Regions from separate parts of the Homo sapiens genome. Here all the other regions are linked to region 2. The links are contacts of gene promoters, found by promoter capture Hi-C in blood cells and fetal thymus (Javierre and others, 2016). All regions are on one chromosome and are shown on one strand. Each heading gives the region's core, a stretch centred on a gene start or on the middle of the fragment in contact. The rest is flanking DNA. Distances are from core to core; before and after follow the strand shown.

Region 1 (3,669 bases), core at 76-2,575, 700 kb before region 2:
TCTCATCTATTAATAAAAATTTCAGATTTCCAGCTTCTCTGAAAGAATCTGCAAGTGATACTGCTGGTATTGAAATAGTTGGCCATAGCCTATTTTAACAGATCTGATTCTGATTGTGGACCCTTCATCGCAGAGCTTGCACCCTCATTTATTTGTGTGACCTGTCTCGCCCCTGTAGCCATCTGAGTGTGTGATCCTCTCATTTAGATCCCAGAGATTAGATTTGTGTGATAATGTTGTAATTATTTCTGGAACACAAAATCAGCAAGGATAATGGAGGATGTAATAAAATTTAACACAATAACTTTTTTTTCTTTTAGACTGAATCTCACTCGCTCTGTCACCAGACTGGAGTGTAGTGGCGCGATCTTTGCTCACTGCAACCTCCGCGTCCCGGGTTCAAGTGATTATTGTGCCTCAGCCTCCCAAGTAGCTGGGACTACAGGCGTGCGCCACCACGCCCGGGTAATTTTTGTATTTTTAGTAGAGAAGGGGTTTCATCATGTTGGCCAGGATGGTCTCGAACTCCTGACCTTGTGATCTGCCTGCCTCCGCCTCCCAAGGTGCTGGGATTACAGCTGTGAGCCACCACGCCCAGCCCCACAATAACTAACTTTTTAATGCTGTTAAAGTACTTTTCATGGACGTAATTATTTAAATAATAGACATTCATCAAGGGCCTCTTTTATCAACAGCTTTTTTTTTTTTTTGAGATGGAGTCTCGCTCTGTCACCCAAGCTGGAGTGCAGTGGCGTGTACTTGGCTCACTGCAAACTCCACCTCCTGGGTTCACACCATTCTCCTGCCTCAGCCTCCCAAGTAGCTGGGACTACAGGCGCCTGCCACCAAGCCTGGCTAAATTTTTTTTTTTTTTTTTTTGGTATTGTTAGTAGAGATGGGGTTGCACCGTGTTAGCCGGGATTGTCTTGATCTCCTGACCTCATGATCTGCCCGCCTCAGCCTCCCAAAGTGCTGGGATTACAGGCGTAAGCCACTGCGCCCGGCCTCAACAGGTATTTTTTAAGTGCTATAATCAAATACCAGTCACAGTTTAAAGCATTTCCCATAAAATATTTCATCCAATTCTCACAGCAACCATAACAAGAAGGTACCATTATTATTCTCTTATTGGGAATAAGGAAACTGAGGCACAGAGAGGGTAAGAAACTTGTTCCCATGTCCCACCACCCAAAATTCCAGATGGAAAGGAATTGAAAGGCCTGACTCCACACTCGAAGCCAAGCTTACCTGGGCTGTTTACTGCCTCTGAAATTAAGTCAATTCTCATAAAAACTCTAAGAAGCCATAATTATTACTACTCTGCCTTTCAGATGAGGGAATTAGAGCTCAGAGAATTAAGAAACTCTCCTGAAAGTACTTGTCAAAGCACTGCAGATGAGAAGCTTTTTACAGTTGACACCAGCTTCCCACAGAGTCAGCCCAAAGCCGCTAGGCTGGGGTTTCGGTACCACCAATCACCAATGGCTGCAGCATCCCTTCCCCAAAGACCCTAAACCAAAGGAGACATGCGTAGGGGTCTGCTCTGCTCTAGCCCCCAAACCTTGTTCAGGATCAGCACAGGCAGCCAGGATGGCATTTTTTGTTTGTTTGTTTTTTGAGACAGAATCTTGCTGTCGCCCAGGCTGCAGTGCAGTAGTGCCATCTTGGCTCACTGCAACCTCTGCTTCCAGGGTTCAAGTGATTCTCGTGCCTCAGCCTCCCGAGTAGCTGAGATTACAGATGTGCACCACCATGCCTGGCTAATCTTTGTATTTTTAGTAGAGATGGTGTTTCACCATGTTGGCCAGGCTGGTCTCGAACTCCTAACCTCAGGTGATCCGACAGCCTCGGCCTCCCAAAGCGCTGGAATTACTGGTGTCAGCCACCACGCCCGGCCTAGGATGGCATTTTCTATTCACCAAGCCAAGAAGTCACACCACCTGAAGGCAAGACCCATTGTCCAGGGCCCATGCCAAGCCAAATGAACTTGCCATGCCCTGGGAGGCTGCTCCTGTTCTACTGAGGTGCAGAAGAAGCAGAAGTGGGAGCCACGAGTAGAGTAGGAAAATGGGACAGTTGGAGGATAATTGAAGCAAAACTTACAAAGTAGTCCAACACATGTATCCATAAAGGAAAAATCCTAGAGGATTCAAGAAGTAATCAACCTCTCTTCTCTAATACCAACAAATCTATAGCCCAGTCTTGTTTCTCACTGATAATAGCATATACAGGACTGAGTGCATCTTGTACAATACAAGACACTGCTCCCTTTTAAAACACACAATGGAACATTAAGAGCGCCCTGGATTTCCCATCAACAAATGCTCAGCCAAAAGCCTGAAGTCATCCTTTATTCCTTCTGTTCTTTCACTCCTGTGTTTTATCCATCTGATAGATCCTATCAGCTCCTCTCCAAAATTTATCCCAAATCCATCCTCTTCTCTCCAGCTCAGCTGCTAGAAGCATTGGCCAAACCACAGTCACCTCTCACCAGGAGTATCGCATTAGCCCTCTCACTCATTCTTTTGCATGCTCCCTTGCCACCTTAACCTCTCCAGTCTCCTTTTCAAACAGCCAAATGAATACTCCCTGTAAAATATAAATCAAATCACATGGTTCCAATGTTCAAAACCCTCCTGTCACATTTACAATAAAGTTCAAATTTCTTGCCATGTCCTAGAAGACCCAATTTCCTTCTTCATCTTTACTCCACAAATGCTCTCGTTTGTCAAGCACCAGGAACCCTGACCTTCTTCCTGCTCCTCAAACCACACCAAGTTCATTTCACTTGCATACACTCTGCCTCCAACTCTGTTTTCCTGCATGTTTCTATTGCTGTTTTCTCTCTTCCCTCCTATTTCTTTTCTGATGTCTCCTCCTTAAAGGTTCATTCCCAGTCACAATTTCTAAGGTAGCCCTTCTTCATTGTCTCCCCTGCCTCATCCCTGATGACTCTGCCATCTCACACTGCCCTGTTCCTTTTTGTTTCCTTCACACTGAGAACTGTCTGAAATTCTCTAGTATACATATTTGCTTGCTGGTTTCTTGTTAGCCTTCTGCTAGAATGTAATCTCCATGAGAACACAGATGTTGTTCAGAGCTATGACCTCAGAACCTAGAACCAGGCCTGGAACAGAATAGTTGCTCAATAAATATTTGCTAAATGAAAGAATGAAATTATAAACTTACCATCATATTCCTAGCTTTAGGGAAGATTTAAAAAAACCAGTAAGAAAACAATGCTCAGTATATATTTTTTGAATGAAGTGATAAACTCACTATCATATTCCTAGCTTTAGGAAGATAAGAGTAAGAAAACAAAAGGAAATTAGAAAGTGTGGAAAGAAAACTTGTCATTTTATTTAAAGCGCCTACAAGGAGCTCAGCACAGTGCCTCAAATTAAGCCCCCAACAAACAGTACCTGTGTTTGTTGATACTACATGCCCACTGATTTACACGCACAATTGCATTTAATAATCTCATGGATCCTGTGAAATGGACACTAGTGGTCCCATTTTACAGAAAAGGAAGCTGAGGCTGAGAGTTTAAGTAACATGGGCCAAACAGCTAGAAAGTAACAGAACTGACCCCAAAGCCAGAGTTATTTTTCCTCCCACTGCTCTGTGGCTTTGACTGCTGTCTCTGAGATTCACTGACATGACGTTCCA
Region 2 (3,215 bases), core at 694-3,193:
GTTCAGTAGCGTGTCTAGTCATTACACTGTACAGCCTCACAAAAACCATGTCTTATTAATCTCATCAGCAACAGCATATAGTAAGTGTGCGATATATGTCTGTTGAATATAGGAATAAATAAATTCATGAATGTTTGTTAATAACTTCATCATGAGAAAGTATTAGTACAATGGTGGCTCCTGCCCGTAATCCCAGCATTTTGGGAGGCTGAGGTGGGCAGATGATTTGAGGGCAGAAGTTTGAGACCAGCCTGGTCAACATGGTGAAACCCTGTCTCTAGTAAAAATACAAAATTAGCCAGGCATGGTGGTAGGTGCTTGTAATCCCAGCTACTCGGGAAGCTGAGACAGGTGAATCCCTTTAACCTGGGAGGCGGAGGTTGCCGTAAACCGAGATCGCACCACTGCACTCCAGCCTGGGTGACGGAGTGAGTTCGTCTCAAAAAACTAAAACAAAACAAAACAAAAACAAAAAGAAAGTTCTAGTAAATCACTGTACATAGAAGTACCATCTGATTCACATCCATAATTTAAAGTTTTTATTAGCTACCTTAAAAAAATAAGCAGGTCATATTAATTTTAATAGTATCTAACTCAATATATCCAAAATAGTATCATTTCAACATGTAATCATTGTAACAATTATTGATGAACTATATTACATCTTTTTTGTTTTGTGCTAAGTCTATAAAATCTTGTAGTATTTTGCACTTGTACTACATCTCAGTTTGGACAAGCCACATTTCAAGTGCTCTATAGTCATGTGGATAGTACGGTTCTAATGCAATTCTGCAATTCAGGTGTCAGAATAATATAGTGGGGCAGAAGTTTGGAGTCATTGACTTCCTGAGTCCAAATTTTGGCTCTTGAACTTACTGGTTGTCAATGACCTCTAGCCAAAAACCACCAGGAACAAATGGGGTTGATTGCTTGTTGGAGGGAGAAGACACACCATTGGGAATGGTGAGGTGTCTGGGTAAAGGGATGTTCGGACAGTTTTATTATAGGATTTGTGTTTGTGTTAGGTGACCTGGGAGAGCTTAAGGAAGAGAGGCTCTCCTGTGGACTGGATGTTGTCAGGAAATGCGTATAATTCTAAGGTTGCATATCTTAATAAATCTTATCTAAATGGAGGAAGACTAGATAGCGGTTAACATTATAATTAATAAAGAAATAAGAGTCACTCATATTAGCCAGGATAGGGGGATGTTTGGTAATTTCTGTGGCTTGTACATCGCTCATATTTTGGCCGTGTTTAGATGTGATTATGGAGTGGCCTCGTCTGATGTTTATGTTCCACAGGAAGCAAACACTTCCTAGCAACACCAAAGCTCAGCTGATAGTACCAGGCAGCTCCTGGAGATCAAGGGCTGCTTTTCTCCCTCTCATAGCTGTGCAACCTTAAGGTAGTGATCAAACTTCTCTGGTTGTTTTCTCATCTCTAAAATGGGAATACAAGAGCATCTATTTCATCTCTTAAAATTATCAGTATTAAATGAGATGCAAAGACACTGAGTTAATGCCTGGTATATGGTCACCACTCAGTGCTATCTATTGTAGTTCAAAGATTCTAAGATGCACTATATTTTTTCACATTTTAACATTTCTGAAAGTGTGTGCCTTTCAAACAATGGCTTCTTCAAATGGATGAAATGTAGTATTGTAATTTCTGAAATCTCTGGTTTGGGGGACAATTCCTTGTCCCCTCCAGGTGCTCAATTTATTCCTGGGTGAATGGCTTTACTTTTAAACCTTCCTTACTTTCCCCATTTCTCCGCAGGCGCCCCGTGGCATCCTCTCCCAGCCACAGACTTTCAGCTTGCGCGGCATCCCCAGGCAATACGGGCGGTGCGGCGGCAGCACTCGGGGGCTTACGGCGGCGCGGCGCCCAAGAGGCCCCAGCAGCCGAAGGGAAACCGGCGCGTCCCCCGCCCGCCCAGGCGTCAGCTGATGGGCTGCCTGCCGAGGAGGCCGCAGCAGTCGCCGCGCGAACATGGCGGCCGAAATCCACTCCAGGCCGCAGAGCAGCCGCCCGGTGCTGCTGAGCAAGATCGAGGGGCACCAGGACGCCGTCACGGCCGCGCTGCTCATCCCCAAGGAGGACGGCGTGATCACGGCCAGCGAGGACAGGTAGGGCCCGGGCGCAGCCGGGGCGGCCCGAACTCCGCGACGACGGGGTGTGGGGGCGGTGGGGTCCGCGGCCCCGGTCCTTCCTGCGTGAGGGGGCTCCCCCGGCAGCACGGCCCCACCCCCACTCTGCGCCCCTTAGCTCCGCCGGGTTCCCGGTTCCCTCCCGCCGGTCCTCCAGCCTCGACTTGCACCTTTCCAGCCTGGGACCCCGGTCTCGCCGCGCCCCTCCAGCCCGGATCCCCTGTCCCACCGCGCCCCTCCAGCCCGGGAACTCCGTCTCACCGCGCCGCCCAAGCCCGGGACCCTTGTTCCAACGTGTCTTTCCAGCCCAGGACCCCTGTTCCAGTGCGCCCTACCGCGCCCCTCCCAGCCCACCTCGCCCCTCCTGCTCAGGACCCCTGTTCCAATGCTCCCCAACGCGCCCCTCCAGTCCGGGACCCTTGTCCCACTGCGCCCGTCCATCCCGGGAGCTCCGTCCCACCGCGCCCCTCTAGCCCGGATCTTCTGTCCCACTGCGCCCCTCCAGCCCGGGAACTCTGTCCCACCGCGCCACTCAAGCCCGGGACCCCGGTTCCAGTGCGCCCCAACGCACCTCTCCAGCCCAGGACCTCTGTCTCACCGCGCCCCTCCAGCGCGGGAACTCTGTCTCACCGCGCTGCTCAAGCCGGGGACCCCTGTTCCAGTGCGCACCAACGCGCCCCTCCCAGCCCACCGCGCTCCTCCAACCAGGGAACCCCGACCTGCGGTGTCGCACTAGCCTGGGACCTTCGTCCCGGTCTCTCTCCCTGGCGGGGTTTAGCCTGGTACTCGGAAGGTGTTTCTTGGCCCTCCCGGGTCAGTTCCAAATCGTCTCCTCTGGAAGCGTGGAGGACCGGCGGCTGGTCACTGCGGACCCTGGTGCCCGGGGCTTGCTTCTTTGCGAGGAACTCCAGCCGCCTTCGCTCTCTTCCTCCCCCTGTACTCAGGGATTTCACGCCACGCCAGGCCTCTAGATCAGTTATTTTTGCCACGGCTGCTAGAATCACCTGAACTCTTATTTACTAAATAGGTTTTTGTGAAAGTGACTCATTTTTAAAAATATTTGG
Region 3 (3,345 bases), core at 836-3,335, 590 kb before region 2:
TTGTTCATAGAGTAATCTGAATAAGAAGACATTGCAGCAGTGTATCTAAGGCATTCATTTTACTTCTTTCAGTCATGAGTTTGTGTGTGTGTGTATGCATAATTGAAAAATAAACAAAATTAGCTCTTAATTGTAGCTATTTTCTGCTAGTAAAATTCACCGTTATTGGTCAGGATAATTTTTTGAGGTATGATGCAAACAAGGCAATTATGACACATTGTACTAGGAGATCACGTTTTATTTTGCTGAAAGGCAGGTATAAATATGATGACAAATATGTAAATACTTGATATATTTTTTTATAAAATGTACAAATCAGTGATTTGAAAGAACATGCCTTATTTTGTAACATTAACTTTTTATTTAATTGGTCAATTTTTTATTCATTCAACAAATATGCAGGCACATTTACGTGTTCCAAATTCAGGGTGATTTTAATGTAGTTAACATTTAACTTAATTTTATAATATAGCGGTATGTAGAAGTTCATATAAGTCCTTAAGAATAATTAATGGGCTTGATATTCTGATGTTTGAAATACGTATTTTTTTTGTATGTAGCGTAGATTGCTCTTGCATTGTCATGATTTTAATTTAATTGCTACTCTTCAGTAAAGGAATATGAAGCTTGGTGTAAAATTTTGAAAATAAGCACGTTTTCAGCTTGCTGGGTTTTTGTTGGGATTTGTATCTGACAAGTGCTAGATTTAATGAGTTGAAACAAATGATACATTATTCATTTTGTATAAGTATTTCCATTAACTAACTTGATATAGTTAACATTTTTGGAGGAATTTCTGGGTGATGTAACTTGAAGTCATGGAGCTTAGTCTTGTGAACAAAAGATTAAATATATGATAAAATTCTAAATTATGTGGTACAGGCCTAGTGATTTTTATACTGTATATTTAGTAGACTAGATATATTGTCTCATCATTAAATCTAATAACCTCGTTTTCCCCAATATGTAGGAAAAGATTCTGTTTTCTTAGTTTGAATTTATTCTTCCACAGTGTGTTGTGTGTATTTTCTTTGGCACTTTTAGCCACTTGTTCATATTAGATCTGATACAGAATGGCATTTTATTTATGTGTATTTATAATTGTTTTAGAGGTGTCTATATATCTCAACATACATTAAATAGTTGATGTTTCTCAGAAAGCACCATGACTTCAGCTTTTTCCCAATCTGAAAAAGCATAACCACTATTAGAAATTCTCTATGGTAAAGGATATTTGGAGATAAAAAAGTTTTGTTTAGTGTAGAGTTATTGAGAGTTTAGCTGGATTATGGAAGGTTGGTTGGATTTGAATAACTGTAGAAGTTGGCAGTATAGTCCCAAAGTGTTACAGGAACTTGGAGACAAACACACGACGACTTTGTGATAAAACAAGAACCAGAGTCTAGATTCTGTTTCTGAGTGAAATGGTCTTTCTTTTGGGCAGATAGCATAGCAGGAAAGAGTAGTGGTCAATAACATTTTATCAGAGAGGATGGTACTAAGCTTGTGGACTGTGGAAAGGAATTTTTGAAGTCTTGAATAGTCTTTTATTAGGGTTGGATTGGAAAGACATTTCAGGCTCAAGGGAACTTTATGTGCAAAAGCAGGTAATCCTGAAAGTGCTTATGTTGGAGGTGAATCATGGCATTGGAGGGCAGGGATATGAAATAAATGGTGTTATATATACCAAGCACTATTCTAGGTGTGGGATATACACATGGAAAAGATAGAAATCCTGCCACCATGGAGACATTTACATTTTAGTGGAAGAAACAATAAACAAATAAACTAATATAGTAGGTAATGATGAATGCTATGACAAAAAACAAATTGTATGGTGAAGAAGTAGAGCTAGGCTTTCTTTGAAGTAATTGGTTGGGAAAGACTTCTCCAGAGATGAAATTTGAGCAAAATAAAGTGAGTGGGACGAGCCATGTGAATTGAGGCAGAAGGAATGGCAGAGCACAGTTGCTGTATTTAGTAAAGAGGCCATTGTAGCTGAAGTGTACTGAGTAGTTTATTATAGAGTGTTTACGGAGTACTAAGCACTGTTTTAAGTGTATTGCTAGCGTTAATTCAGTTCTTAAAACAATCCTACAAGAAGAATGCTATTTCACATATAAGGAAACTGAGGCACAGAGGTTAAATATTTATCCCAGGTCACCCAGTTTGTTAGGGAGCTGGGATTGGAGCCCAGGTAATTGACTCCAAAATCAGTATTCTCAACCATTATTCAAAGTTGGGGAAGGGAAGGTGTAGTAGGAAATTCAGCAGTAGCATGAAGCCAGTCTTACAGGCCCTTGTAACTTACTATAAGAATATAGGATTTTACTCTGACAATGATGTCAAGTCACTGGAGGGTTGGGAAATACCTAGGAAGTTGATTTATGTTCTGGAGATCAGAAGAGGAGTCTGTACTATACATATACATTTGATACTCTTCTGTGTATAGGTTATAGCTTAAAATATTTCTACTAGCCTATAACATTTCTTTGATTTAAATTAAAGATTCCACTTCATTATTTTATTAAACAGATATGTGCATGCCTGTATATACGAGTGTGTGGATGTGTGTGTGCAAACTAATGAACTCTTCTGTTACTAGGTGCGAGAAGATGTACTAAATTCATTGAATAACAACTTTCTTCAAACGCTAAATCAAGCTTGGAATGATCATCAAACAGCTATGGTGATGATTAGAGACATACTAATGTACATGGTAAGTAGAGCTTTTTAAATGTTTTCTTCCTTTAAGCAGTTAAGCATTTGAAGTTGAAGGCTGGGCACGGTGGCTCACGCCTGTAATCCCAGCACTTTGGGAGGCCAAGGTGGGCATATCATTTAAGGTCAGGACATTGAGACCAGCCTGGCCAGCGTGGCAAAACCCTGTCTCTACTAAAAATACAAAAATTAGGTGCAGTGGTGGGCACCTGTAATCCCAGCTACTTGGGAGGCTGAGGCAGGAGAATCGCTTGAACCGGGGGGTGAGCCAAGATCGTGCCACTGCACTCTCACTTGGGCAACAGAGTGAAACTCCGTCTCAAAAAGAAATTAAACATTTCAAAACACAATGACTTTCTGTCTAACTTAGTTATAGTACGTCTCAGTGTGGAAGGTGGTTTTTGTTTTTTAAATGAACAGTACTTTCTTTGTAAGGGCCAACCGAAGCCTATGTGAATAAAAATCTTTATTTATTTATTTATTTATTTATTTATTTATTTATTTATTTATTTATTTATTTATTTTGAGACGGGGTCTCGCTCTGTTCCCCAGGCTGGAGTGCAGTGGCATGATCTCGGCTCACTGCAAGCTCTGCCTCCCGGGTTCACGCCATTCTCCTGCCTT
Region 4 (3,473 bases), core at 516-3,015, 620 kb before region 2:
TGTGGGGTGTGTAACATAGTGTGGAAATGCTGGACAAAGATGTAATTCAGGATTCACATCCTGAGTGGGATGGCATGAGATTTCATCATACTACATAAAATGGCATGCAATTTAAAGTTTATGAATTGATATTTCTGGAATTTTTTATTTAATATTTTCAGGCAGTGGTTGGTTGCTAGTAACTTAAACCAAGGAAGGTGAAACTGTAGATAGGAGGACTGTTGTAGTTTATCTTCTTTAAGATATGGACAAACTTAGGAAATCTGATAGAAATTAGGGACCTACTCTCCAGAAAAGAAGTGCACACACAGTATACTTGGAAAGTTTTGTTTATTGTTTTAGGAACCTCTGGAATCCCTCTTAAGTTTTAGAACCCTGCATGTACGGATAATAGATGTAACCATGACAATGAATGAAAATACATAGAGACCCAGTAGAGAGTGACAAGAGCCAAGGACAGAGTTCTCAGGGTGAAAATGATTTAAATGGCTCTGGAAAAGTAGTATACAAGAGATGTAGGGGAATAATGTTTTCTAAAAGAAAGCTACGTTATACTGAGGTGCATTTATCATAGTGTTATTCTTAAGGTGCCTTTGTTTTAGCTCATATCTGTATATTTGCTAAGCTTGAAAAAGCTATATTTCTTTCTGACATTTATTTGATGACTGTCGATGAGCGTTCAAGAGATTCTATCATTGGGCACTTTCCTTTGTTGATGCATGAGGGATTATACTGTGCTCTGGGCTGTGTTAAATCTACTGACGTTCTCATTTAATCTTCATGACAGCCCTTTGAGATAGATGCTGTTATTGAACCCAGGACTTAATTTTCTCAAGGTCACATGGCTTGTGAGTAACAAAGCTGTGGCACAAACCTAAGGCTGTCTGACAGCAAAACCCATGTTCTCTACCAGTATACTAACTATGTTTACCAAGATAATCAGTGACTGTGATGTTACTTTACCATATTAGCACAATGGAATGTGACATTAGTCCACTGATTTGGACTAGGTTTTGGGATATATAAGTTCTAATCCCAGCTCTATGATTTTGGGTAAGTCATTTAATCTCTCTGGGTCTATTTTTCATTGTCGTCGTCTTTTTTTTTTTTTTTTTGAGACAAAGTCTTGCTCTGTTGCCTAGGCTGGAGTGGGCTGGCGCGATCTCGCCTTACTTCAGCCTCTACCTCCCGGGTTCAAGCGATTTTCCTGCCTTAGCTTCCCCTGTAGCTGGGATTACAGGCACGCACCACCACATCCGGCTATTTTTTGTATTTTTAGTAGGGATGGGGTTTCACCATGTTGGCTAGGCTGGTCTCGAACTCCCAACCTCAAGTGATCTGTCCACCTTGGCTTCCCAAAGTGGTGGGATTACAGGCGGGAGCCACTGTGCCTGGCTCTTCTTCTCATTTGTTAGAAAAATTTTTAACCTTAGCTATCACCAGAAGGAACATTTTTTCCTGCAGCCCCATCTTTTATCTATCAATAAGGCATTAATTTAAAAAGAAAAAAAAAACGCACTACATACAACCTTGTGTAGTAAAACAGCTCTTGATGTATATATGTGAAAATGGTTATGTTATAATAATGTGAGAGTACTTTTACAATGTTTGAAGCCTCTTGGTTTTATAGTTTTAAAATTCTTCAGCTTCTAGTAGAAAAATTTAGTAATTTACTCTGGGTAGAGACATTTTAATACTTTTTCTGGCTTTCAGAGGATCTTAGGTTATAGAGCCTGTAAAGATGATTTGATGTTTTGCTCAGCTATTAGCAGTATAGGTATCTTTGAGGCTTATAGTTGACATTAACTTTTCTCTTTTTTGAAATTGTTCTGAGTATTTTGCTTTATCTATTTGTTACTCAATGTCAAGAGATAGTGTCTTAGTTTGCTTTATTAGAACCTCAGCATATGTAGTCAACAAACTAAAACCACATTGCACGTACGTAGCTATGGTATTTGAGGCCATCATTATTACATGGCCTTGAATCTTCTGTTTGTGAAAAGTTAGCCGCATCAGTACATTTTATATGGATGACATCCTATCAGGATATCTGATTAAAAAGAGGTAGCAGTATAGGTGTAGGGGTAAATTCTTTTACAGTCATTTGATAAAAGTCTCTGACAGACTTAGGTCTTGGATAGGATTTCGGTAAAAGAAAAGAAATTGTTCTGTTAAAGTTCCTTCTCAAGCTCTTCAGAAAAGATCAGAATAACAAGATTCAGTTTGAGTCATTTGCTTAAGGATCGTCTTGATTGAGAGTTGAGCTGGTATTTTACTGCCAGGGTGACTAAAATAACTATTTTGCCTACTCCTTCCTCTTTTCACATTCATACACATCAGACGTGACTTGGAGAGGATTCCACTAACTCAGTAATTTTTATCCAGTTCAGATCAGAAGTTTGTGTGAAGCTGATCAATGTTGCTTAGGTTGTAAATGCAGAACTTGGAGATTTTATGTGGCATTTACAAAGGGGTCATTAGTCATATATTAGCAGAAAATCAGTCACCGAAGTATGAATCCTTGTTATGTGCCATATACTGTTTTAGAGGCTGAGGAATTTGGCAGTGAAAAAAAGATCCCTGCCTTCATGAAGCTGACATTTGGTTGTAGAGAGGGAGACCAGGAAAATAATGAAGAATGTGGGTTGGAGTTGGGGATCAGTAGTGAGGTGAGGCTGTTACTGTAAATAAGGTGGGCATTTAAAACTTCACTGTAAGATGACAGTTGAGTAGAGGTTTGAGCCATGCAGGAAACTGAGGGAAGAACATTTCAGACAGAAAGAATAGCAAATACGAAGACACTGAAATCAGCTTGTTTGATGTATGCCAGGGAGTGCATGGAGCAGAGCGAACAAAAGGAAAAAATGGATGAAGTTGAGAGATTATCAGATCGAATAAAGCTTATAGAACATTGTAAGGACTTTGACTTCAACTCCAGGGGAAATGAGAACTCATTTGAGAGTTGTGAGCAAATGAGTGACATGATTTGATTTATGCTTTTACATGGTCACCCTGGTTGCCTGATGATAGCAGGCCAGGAGTGGAGATGGAGACCAGTTGGAGGTGGTGGTGGTTTTACCAGGATAGTAGCAGTGGAAGTGGTGAGAAAGAGTTGAATTCTGGGGATACATTTTGAAGTTAGAGACAACAGCATTTTCTGTTGGAGTAGTAGTGGGGTCAGAGAGTAGTTAATTATGATCACAAGCATTTTGGCCGGAGCAGCTGGAAGGATGGAGTGGACATTTGTTCAGCTGGAAAAGACTTCAGGGGAAACCAACTGAGGGAAAAGATGAGGAGTTCTGTTTCAGGCTTGGTAAGTTTGAGATGCCTACTACGCATTAAAGTGGAAACATTGAGTAGGTAGCTGGATATATGACTCTGGCATGTACAGAGGGGGCCAGAGAATGTATCAATTTTAAGATTGATTTAAAACCATGAGAATAGATCAACTCCACCTAGAAAATGAGTGTGAC
Region 5 (3,766 bases), core at 824-3,323, 970 kb after region 2:
CCTCTCCCTCCTCCTCAGCCTTTTACCTACTTGGCTTCCAGGACACCACATTCTTCGGCCATGAGTTTTCTCCGACCTCACTGGTCCACCCTCTTCAGTTACCTCTGCTGGCTCCTCCACACCTCCCCAAACTCTAAACATTGGAGCGCACTAGTGTTGGGCTTTATCTCTTGTCTACCCATTGTCACTCCAGTCTATGCCTTTAAATATCATCTTCAGACCTGCTACTCCCAGATTTATATCTGACTGGACCCTGCCCCTGAATTCTAGTTTCATAGATCTGAACATCTCCATTTGGACATCTGAAAGGCATCCCGCACTCAGCATATCCCAAACTGAGTTCCTGATCTTTCCCCCAAAAACCTGCCCTTCCAAATTATCTCAGTTAATTGCCATTCCATCTGCCCAATTGCTCAGGGAAATAACCTCAAAGTCATCCGTGACCCCTCTCTGCCTCTCAAATTTTCATTCAATCTACCATCAACTCTACTGGCTCCAAAGATATCCTAAATCTGACCACTTCTCTTCACTTCCACTGTCATTCCCTTTGGGCCTGGTCACCACCATCTCTCACCCAGACATGGCAGCTGTCTCCTAACTGGTCTTTCGGCTCCTGCCTGTAGGACCTTCTCAATGCAAGAGCCGGAGTGATCCTTACAAAATGCAAGGCAGATCATGCCACGCCTCTATTCAGAACGCTCAATGGCTTCCAGCAATTTCCAAAGTAAAGTCGAAAGTCCTTATACTGTGCTGCAAGGTCTCGTGTGATCACTCAGCTTCGAAATCTCCGGCTTTTCCCCCATTAGAATCTCTCTGACTCATATCCTGCCCTGCCCCTTCACCTGCCCCAGCAGCCACATCAGCCTCCTGGGTCCTCCATGCCTCCTCCAGGCACCTCCCGACCCCAGGACCATTGCCTTTGCTGTGCCCACTGCCTAGAATGGTCTTCCCCTAAAACTCCCGTGGCTCACACCATCAATCCTTCAGGTCTTATTGAAATGTCACTGGCTCCAAGAGGTCTCCGATGCCACGCTATTTAAAAGTGAAACCCTGCACCTCCAGTGGTCGGCTGTAATATCTTTCCCGTAGTGCTGACCACCATCTGGCACACTCGTTATTTTTCTGGTATGAGTTTTTGACAGATTCAAGCTCTCTAAAGACCGGGACTCTTCCGTATGACTGTCTCCACAGCATGCAGACGAGTGCCATCCACGGTAAATGCCCAGCGATGCACAGCTGAACCCCCCGCAGACTTCAAGATTCCCCAGGAACAGGAGGTGTCGTATCACCCACAGCAGCTTATCCAGGTCTCCTTCCACGCCTTCCTATATGACCTCCATCTCTCTTCCAGGCTAAGCCCTGCACAAGGAGCTTTTGTACACATTTGTCATTTCATTTTGTTTACTGGAACCCAATCGATTTTTAATTGAATTTACAATCAGAATCCCGAAAATGTCAAAGGTATCTTCACCGCGGTGAAAGCTTCATGCTGCTCTCCAAACCTCAATTTACCAGCAGCCTGCAGAGGCTGCAAATCACTCCAGAGGTGGTGCCTTTGGAGGACAGACTGTGAGCAGGGTTTCTGCACCATCTTGTGGACAGCTTGGGAATGACACCTACTGAAACGTCTTTTACGTCCCAGCGTGTGTGTGTGTGTGTGTGTGTGTGTGTGTGTGTACACGAGAAAGAAAAGCTTACTGATGTCTCCTCCCCACACCAAAATGAATACCTCCTCTCCTCACCAGTCCTCAATGCTAAAGGCTTCTTGGTTGTGTTTTAAGCTGGTAATTCCCTTTTTCAGTTAAAAAAAAAAAATTCCTCCTCCTGGCCCAGTAAGGAGAGAACTGAAGGCTCCTTGCGGTTTGGCTTCTCCCAGAGTGTCTTTCCCTTAGCAGCAGCATCTAGTTCACTCTCTGAATCAGGAAACTGAGCAGGTAAGATGAGTCTTCAGTATCTAAAGGGGCTGTCCTAGGAGGCATGATTTCAGCAGCACCATGTGAGGCCAGCACACCACCCCCTAGTCCGGTGGGCCCTCTGTAATATGCCTTTTATTCCACTGTCAGAACTCAGGTTTTAGATGTAAACACTCCTGGGAGAGGAGCACTAATGTCCAGTCATACCGACCCGAATGACCAACAGCCAACCTACAGGCAGGAGGTGGAGAATGAGGGCAGACAAAGGCCGCTAGTCACCTAGTGGGGAAGGCAGGTCTGGGACAAGAAAGGCCACCTGACCCTCCAAATTCCACTGCACACACCTTACAATTTCCCTCCTACTCGGCCTACCCATGCATAGTGTCAACTCACTGATTCCATCCTGTGTGTTTGGGATTGAAGAGGGGAAAATGGCCAGATCCATCTTCATTGTGAAAATTCTACACTCCAAGGGTTCGTACAGCAATTCCACTACCTCAAGACCCTCGAACTATATTAACTACAGCCACCCAAGCTTGCCTGGGGAAAGACGGTGGACAAAGAGCCATGATTTGTAACCAGCACATGGTTTGTTTGAAAGAAGCATGCACTTCTGAGGTGTGAGAAAGTTCTAGAATCATTTTAGCCAAGATCAAAGAGATTGTTTGCTTTTGTAATATGTTAAGAAAATGGAAGAAAGAGTGTGGACTCATAAGTAAATTTAAACTTTAGACCAGTATGTATGAATTAGCATCAGAAAGGGAAGGGAAGAGAGTAAAGATTGATTGAAAGCCCATTTATGGAATGCACTATCCAGCCACAAAACAAAAAATAAAGCATTATTTCCTCCCCATTCTGGATTATAATCTAGTTGTGCCTTTTTGAAAAGCCAGTCTCATCAACAGAAAGCTATCTTGATTTGAATGGCTCATTAAATAGGATAGAACAGGGGAATTCCAGCTCTAAATGGAAGGCTGTTTACAAACCTAAATTTAATAATCCTCATTAGAGGCCAGCTATGCGATCCTGAGCTAGTAGTTTAACCTCTCTGAACCTCATTTTCCTGATCTGTAAAATGGTGTGCTGATGCTGTGAAAAACAGTTGGGTGTTTCCTCAAAAAGTTAAACATAAAACTACCATACGATCCAGTAATTTCACTTCTGAATATATACTTAAGAGTGAAAGCACAAACTCCAACAGATATTAGTACACTAATGTTCATAACATCATATTCACAATAACCCAGAGGTAGAAATAACCCAAATACCAATGGACAGATTAATGAATATACAAAATGTGGGATAAACATACAATGTTTTGTTTTGTTTTGTCTTGTTTTCGAGACAGGGTCTTGCTCTGTCACCCAGGTGGGACTGCAATGGTACAATCATGGCTCACTGCAGCATCAACTTCCCGGGCTCTAGTGATCCTCCTGCCTCAGCCTCCCGAATAACTGGGACCACAGGAACACACCACTATGCCTGGCTAATTTTCAAAACTTTTTTGTAGAGATGGGATCTCTCTATGTTGCCAGGCTGATCTCAAACTCTTGGGCTCAAGTGATCCTCCTGCCTCGGCCTCCCAGAGTACTGGGAATATAGGTATGAGCCACAGCACCCAGAAAATGTATTATTTTTAGGCCTTAAAAAGGAATGAAATTCTGATGTAAGCTACAACATGAATAAACCTTCAAAGTGTGTATGCTAAACGAAATAAGCCAAACACAAAAGGACAAATATTGCATTATTCCACTGAGGTACCTAGAATAGGCAAATTAATGGAGAAGAGAAGTAGAATAGAGGCTACTAGGAGCTGTGGGGAGGGAGGAATGGTGAGTTAGTGTTTAACGGGT
Region 6 (3,339 bases), core at 743-3,242, 980 kb before region 2:
GATTTACTTATTCCAAACAAAAAGGTAAACCAATTAATTTACCAGATAATTCAGATAAAGACCAATTCTATGAGGAAAATAAAACTAGGCAGAATCTGATGATAGAATCTGAGTAGGGTAAGAGCTGTGTTGGTCTAGGTGACCAGGGACAAGCCTCTCTAAGAAGGCGACATTTAAGCTGAGTTCTGAGTTCTCAAGAAGGATCAGCCATGCTGGGGAAAGCATGTTTCAGGCTAAAGGGGTAGCTGGTGCAAAGGCCCTGAAGAGCTCCAAGATTGGAGATTGGTATGGCTGGACAGGATAAGGCGTTTGCATCTTATTCTAACTATAGGCAAGGGCAAGTCACAGGAGTGTTTCAAGAAGGAAAACAAATGACTGAGTGTGGATTCCTAAATATTAAAAGTTCATCTGGGCTCTGTGTGGAAAACACAAAACAAGGCCTAGACAAAGTGGGGAGTGTGATCCAAAGAATCATTTCCAATTAATCTCTGCCCAAGAGATTTTCAATGCTACCTAATCCTTACTATCAGCAAATGTCACATCCTCCAAATGGCTAAATTTTAATTTGCATTAAGCAACTGACAAACAAAAGGATAGTGTTAGATATTATCTCTACATAAAATTGCCTATTTTTGAATAATAGTGGAGATTGTTCCTCATTTTAACTGCTCTACAGAGTACAGCTTGGCAAACTGTCGCCCATGGGTGACCTGCTGCCTATTTTTTATGTCCCATGAGCTAAGAATGGTTTTTATGGTTGTTAAAATAGCTTAGGGAAAAAAAGATGATATTTCAAAACACATTAAAATTATCTGAAATTCAAATTCTGATACCCATAAAGAAAGTTTTATTGAACACGGACACCATTCCTTGACCTCTTGTCAGTGGCTGCTTTCATGATGTAAAGGCAGGGTTGCAACAGAGTTGCAGTAGAAGCAACAGAGACATTCAGCCGGAAAAGATTTATTCTTTGACGCTTTACAGAAAAAGTTGGCTGACATAGAGTACAACTGCATGCATTTTTGGTTTTTATCCTCACACTCTTTGTGGAATATAGGCGTGTCTGTAAATCTCTGATGTTACCTGCTTCACCCACAGCCTATGTCACATTTTAGGGACGTGGCGCACCAACAGGAAGTGTCCATGCAGTCAGCAAGCATGTCATTTCATCAGCTCTCCCTTCAGCAGTGGGTGAGGCTCCTCTGGGGTGTGTGGAGTCAATCTCCACGGAGTCAATGTGAAGTGGTCATAGAATGACCACCCCAATCCCAAGGCATTGAGGGATGGAAGGAGAGGGGCCGCTCCAAGCTTCCCACCCCCACCTCTAAATGTCTTTCATCCAGTTTCTGCCCTGCAGATTGGAGAATCCAGCTCACTTGTATGTTTCCACGTTACCAAGCACCCACACTTGCAGCACACATGATTCATTACTCGGTTTGTTTAATCAATATTTATTCAGCACCCACGAGCTGCTGAATATAGAACAGCACTTCCTAGACTAGTGAGACTGACAAGAAAAGCAAAAGCCCTGTGTTTAAGGAGCTCATGCCCTTTTATGGATGAAAAAGCAAGTTGATTTAGAATGCTTATGGTTAAGAAATACCGAGAATCAGAGACTTCGTCTGGTATCTGGTACACGAGAAAGATTACTTTTCACCAAGGCAGTATTCTTATATTGTGACTGTATATATTAAAAGTTTTTCTCTATTCACTCTGCTGTCCCAAGCCACAAATACCCTCATTTGCCTGGACCATACCTCCCCTCCAAGAAGTGGTTTTGTAACTGGTCCTCCTGCTTTCTTCTTTGCTCCGCTTTGATTCGTTCACACACAGTACTCAATGGAAGCTGTTAGGAACACAAATTAGATAACGCCATGCCTCTGGTTAAAACTTCTCAGTGGCTTCCCATTGCCTTAAGAGTCAAATCCAGCTCCTCCCATAACCCCTGTCATCTGGTTCCCCATGTTCTCTGAGCTCTCATCTAGCCTACTTTCCTCAGTCACTGCACAGACATCAAGCATTCTTTCTGTTCCCCCAACTTGCCAAGCTCATCCTCTCGGTAGGGCCTTTACACTCTCTGTATAGCTGGTTCCTATTTTTCAGTCACAACTCAGTTTAAATGTCACCTCTACAAAGAAGCATCCCTGACTTCCAAGCTACATTGCCCTCACACCCAGTTACTTTATAACATGACCCCACCTGCTTCTCTTGATAACACTTATCACCACTGGGAAATATCTTGGTTTGCTTTTTCACTCCTCTGTCACTTGTTTCTCACTGTTAGACAGTAGCCTCTAGCAGGACAGAGACTTCTTCTGTCTTGATTGTTGAAAGATTTTCAGCAGCTAAAGCAGAACTTGGCACAAAGCAGATGGAAAATAAATATTTATTTCATGAATTATCTTTCAGAAACATCTAGATTGCTATTTTATAACATAATGTTGATCCCTTGAGTACCTTGAGGAACCAAAAGGCTTTTCTGAAACAAAATTCTTGAGAACAAAGAGGATGAAGTAATTGGCTTTGCTTGATGGTAAGGAAAATACTTCCTGCTTTGGCACAACTCAACTCAACATATCACCTTAAAAAACAGCACTAAGAACACGTTTCCCTTTTTAAAGAGGCCCATTCCTTCTAACATAGTGCCTGGCTCATAGCTGATATCAGCAAAGCTTAGTTTCCTCCTTTTAACACTTTTTTTTAAAGAGATGGAGTCTCGCTCTGTTATCCAGGCTGGAGTGTAGTGGGAAGTCACTGCAGCCTCAAACTTGGCCTCTCAAAGTGCTGGGATTACAGGCGTGAGCCACTGCACCCAGCCCTCTAACACTTTAGTGTACTTCTTCACTTACTCATTCACTTCCTTTCTGTTACTAGACAAGGGACAAATCAGTTCATATCTGTACTTCAAGTACCCAACACAATGTCTGATTCATAGGCATTCAATAGATTATCAAACATTGAATTAAAATAGTTTTCTTCCAGGTTGAGGGCCTGACACAGAAGCACTTTCCTTTATTTTGGCACACCAGGTAGAAGCTAGTCCTCCTTGTATGTGGGTTCTGGGACTAAGCAGTATGAACTCCTGCACTACATGTGTCCTAATGATTCACTAAAATAAGCAGTATTGATGTATTTATTAAGCCATTCATTGCAAAAACTTGTACTGCTTCAATAATTGTATTTGCTACTTTTTTTCATCTTTCTTTTTCAAGCTGGTAGTAATAGAAACTTTAAAACAAAACAAAAAATAAAGAACTTAGTCACCAAAGTGTGTGACTCAGTAAAGTGGCAAAGAAAGTAAGAAAAGAAAGCAAGGGCTAAGAAAAATGGTTTCAAGGA

Evidence for each region. Contacts are between HindIII fragments. The CHiCAGO score rates a contact against its expected background, and 5 or more counts as called.
Region 1: a fragment that was not itself captured here is called in contact with the fragment with the promoter of WDFY1 in region 2 in 3 of 17 cell types (total B cells, erythroblasts and fetal thymus); the score reaches 5.7 in total B cells.
Region 3: a contact is called between a fragment that was not itself captured here and the fragment with the promoter of WDFY1 in region 2, in 1 of 17 cell types (neutrophils). The highest score is 5.1, in neutrophils.
Region 4: a contact is called between a fragment that was not itself captured here and the fragment with the promoter of WDFY1 in region 2, in 1 of 17 cell types (neutrophils). The highest score is 7.8, in neutrophils.
Region 5: a contact is called between a fragment that was not itself captured here and the fragment with the promoter of WDFY1 in region 2, in 1 of 17 cell types (M0 macrophages). The highest score is 5.2, in M0 macrophages.
Region 6: a fragment that was not itself captured here is called in contact with the fragment with the promoter of WDFY1 in region 2 in 1 of 17 cell types (activated CD4 T cells); the score reaches 5.2 in activated CD4 T cells.

The regions. Positions count from the first base shown.
Region 1 is chr2:224,641,783-224,645,451 of GRCh38, reverse strand. All of the region lies in intron 2 of LOC105373909 (a long non-coding RNA gene), which reads right to left. Among named protein-coding and RNA genes, the nearest start is that of CUL3, 58 kb to the right of the region's middle. The HindIII fragment of the contact is 160 bases long and covers 1,246-1,405 here.
Region 2 is chr2:223,944,063-223,947,277 of GRCh38, reverse strand. WDFY1 (WD repeat and FYVE domain containing 1) reads left to right here and starts at 1,943. Exons shown (of 12, transcript NM_020830.5): 1 at 1,943-2,130. The coding sequence starts at 1,994. It overlaps LOC124907989 (a long non-coding RNA gene), which reads right to left. Exons shown (of 2, transcript XR_007088100.1): 1 at 2,871-3,215. RefSeq lists a silencer at 2,192-2,371 and enhancers at 2,942-3,001, 3,012-3,131. The HindIII fragment of the contact is 5,306 bases long and covers 1-3,215 here.
Region 3 is chr2:224,534,902-224,538,246 of GRCh38, reverse strand. CUL3 (cullin 3) reads left to right here. Exons shown (of 16, transcript NM_003590.5): 3 at 2,606-2,719. Among named protein-coding and RNA genes, the nearest start is that of CUL3, 49 kb to the left of the region's middle. The HindIII fragment of the contact is 1,160 bases long and covers 1,506-2,665 here.
Region 4 is chr2:224,560,280-224,563,752 of GRCh38, reverse strand. The region is part of intron 1 of CUL3 (cullin 3); the gene reads left to right. Among named protein-coding and RNA genes, the nearest start is that of CUL3, 23 kb to the left of the region's middle. The HindIII fragment of the contact is 2,275 bases long and covers 628-2,902 here.
Region 5 is chr2:222,969,713-222,973,478 of GRCh38, reverse strand. No RefSeq gene overlaps it. Among named protein-coding and RNA genes, the nearest start is that of ACSL3-AS1, 52 kb to the right of the region's middle. The HindIII fragment of the contact is 755 bases long and covers 1,696-2,450 here.
Region 6 is chr2:224,925,898-224,929,236 of GRCh38, reverse strand. All of the region lies in intron 2 of DOCK10 (dedicator of cytokinesis 10), which reads left to right. Among named protein-coding and RNA genes, the nearest start is that of MIR4439, 83 kb to the left of the region's middle. The HindIII fragment of the contact is 1,364 bases long and covers 1,311-2,674 here.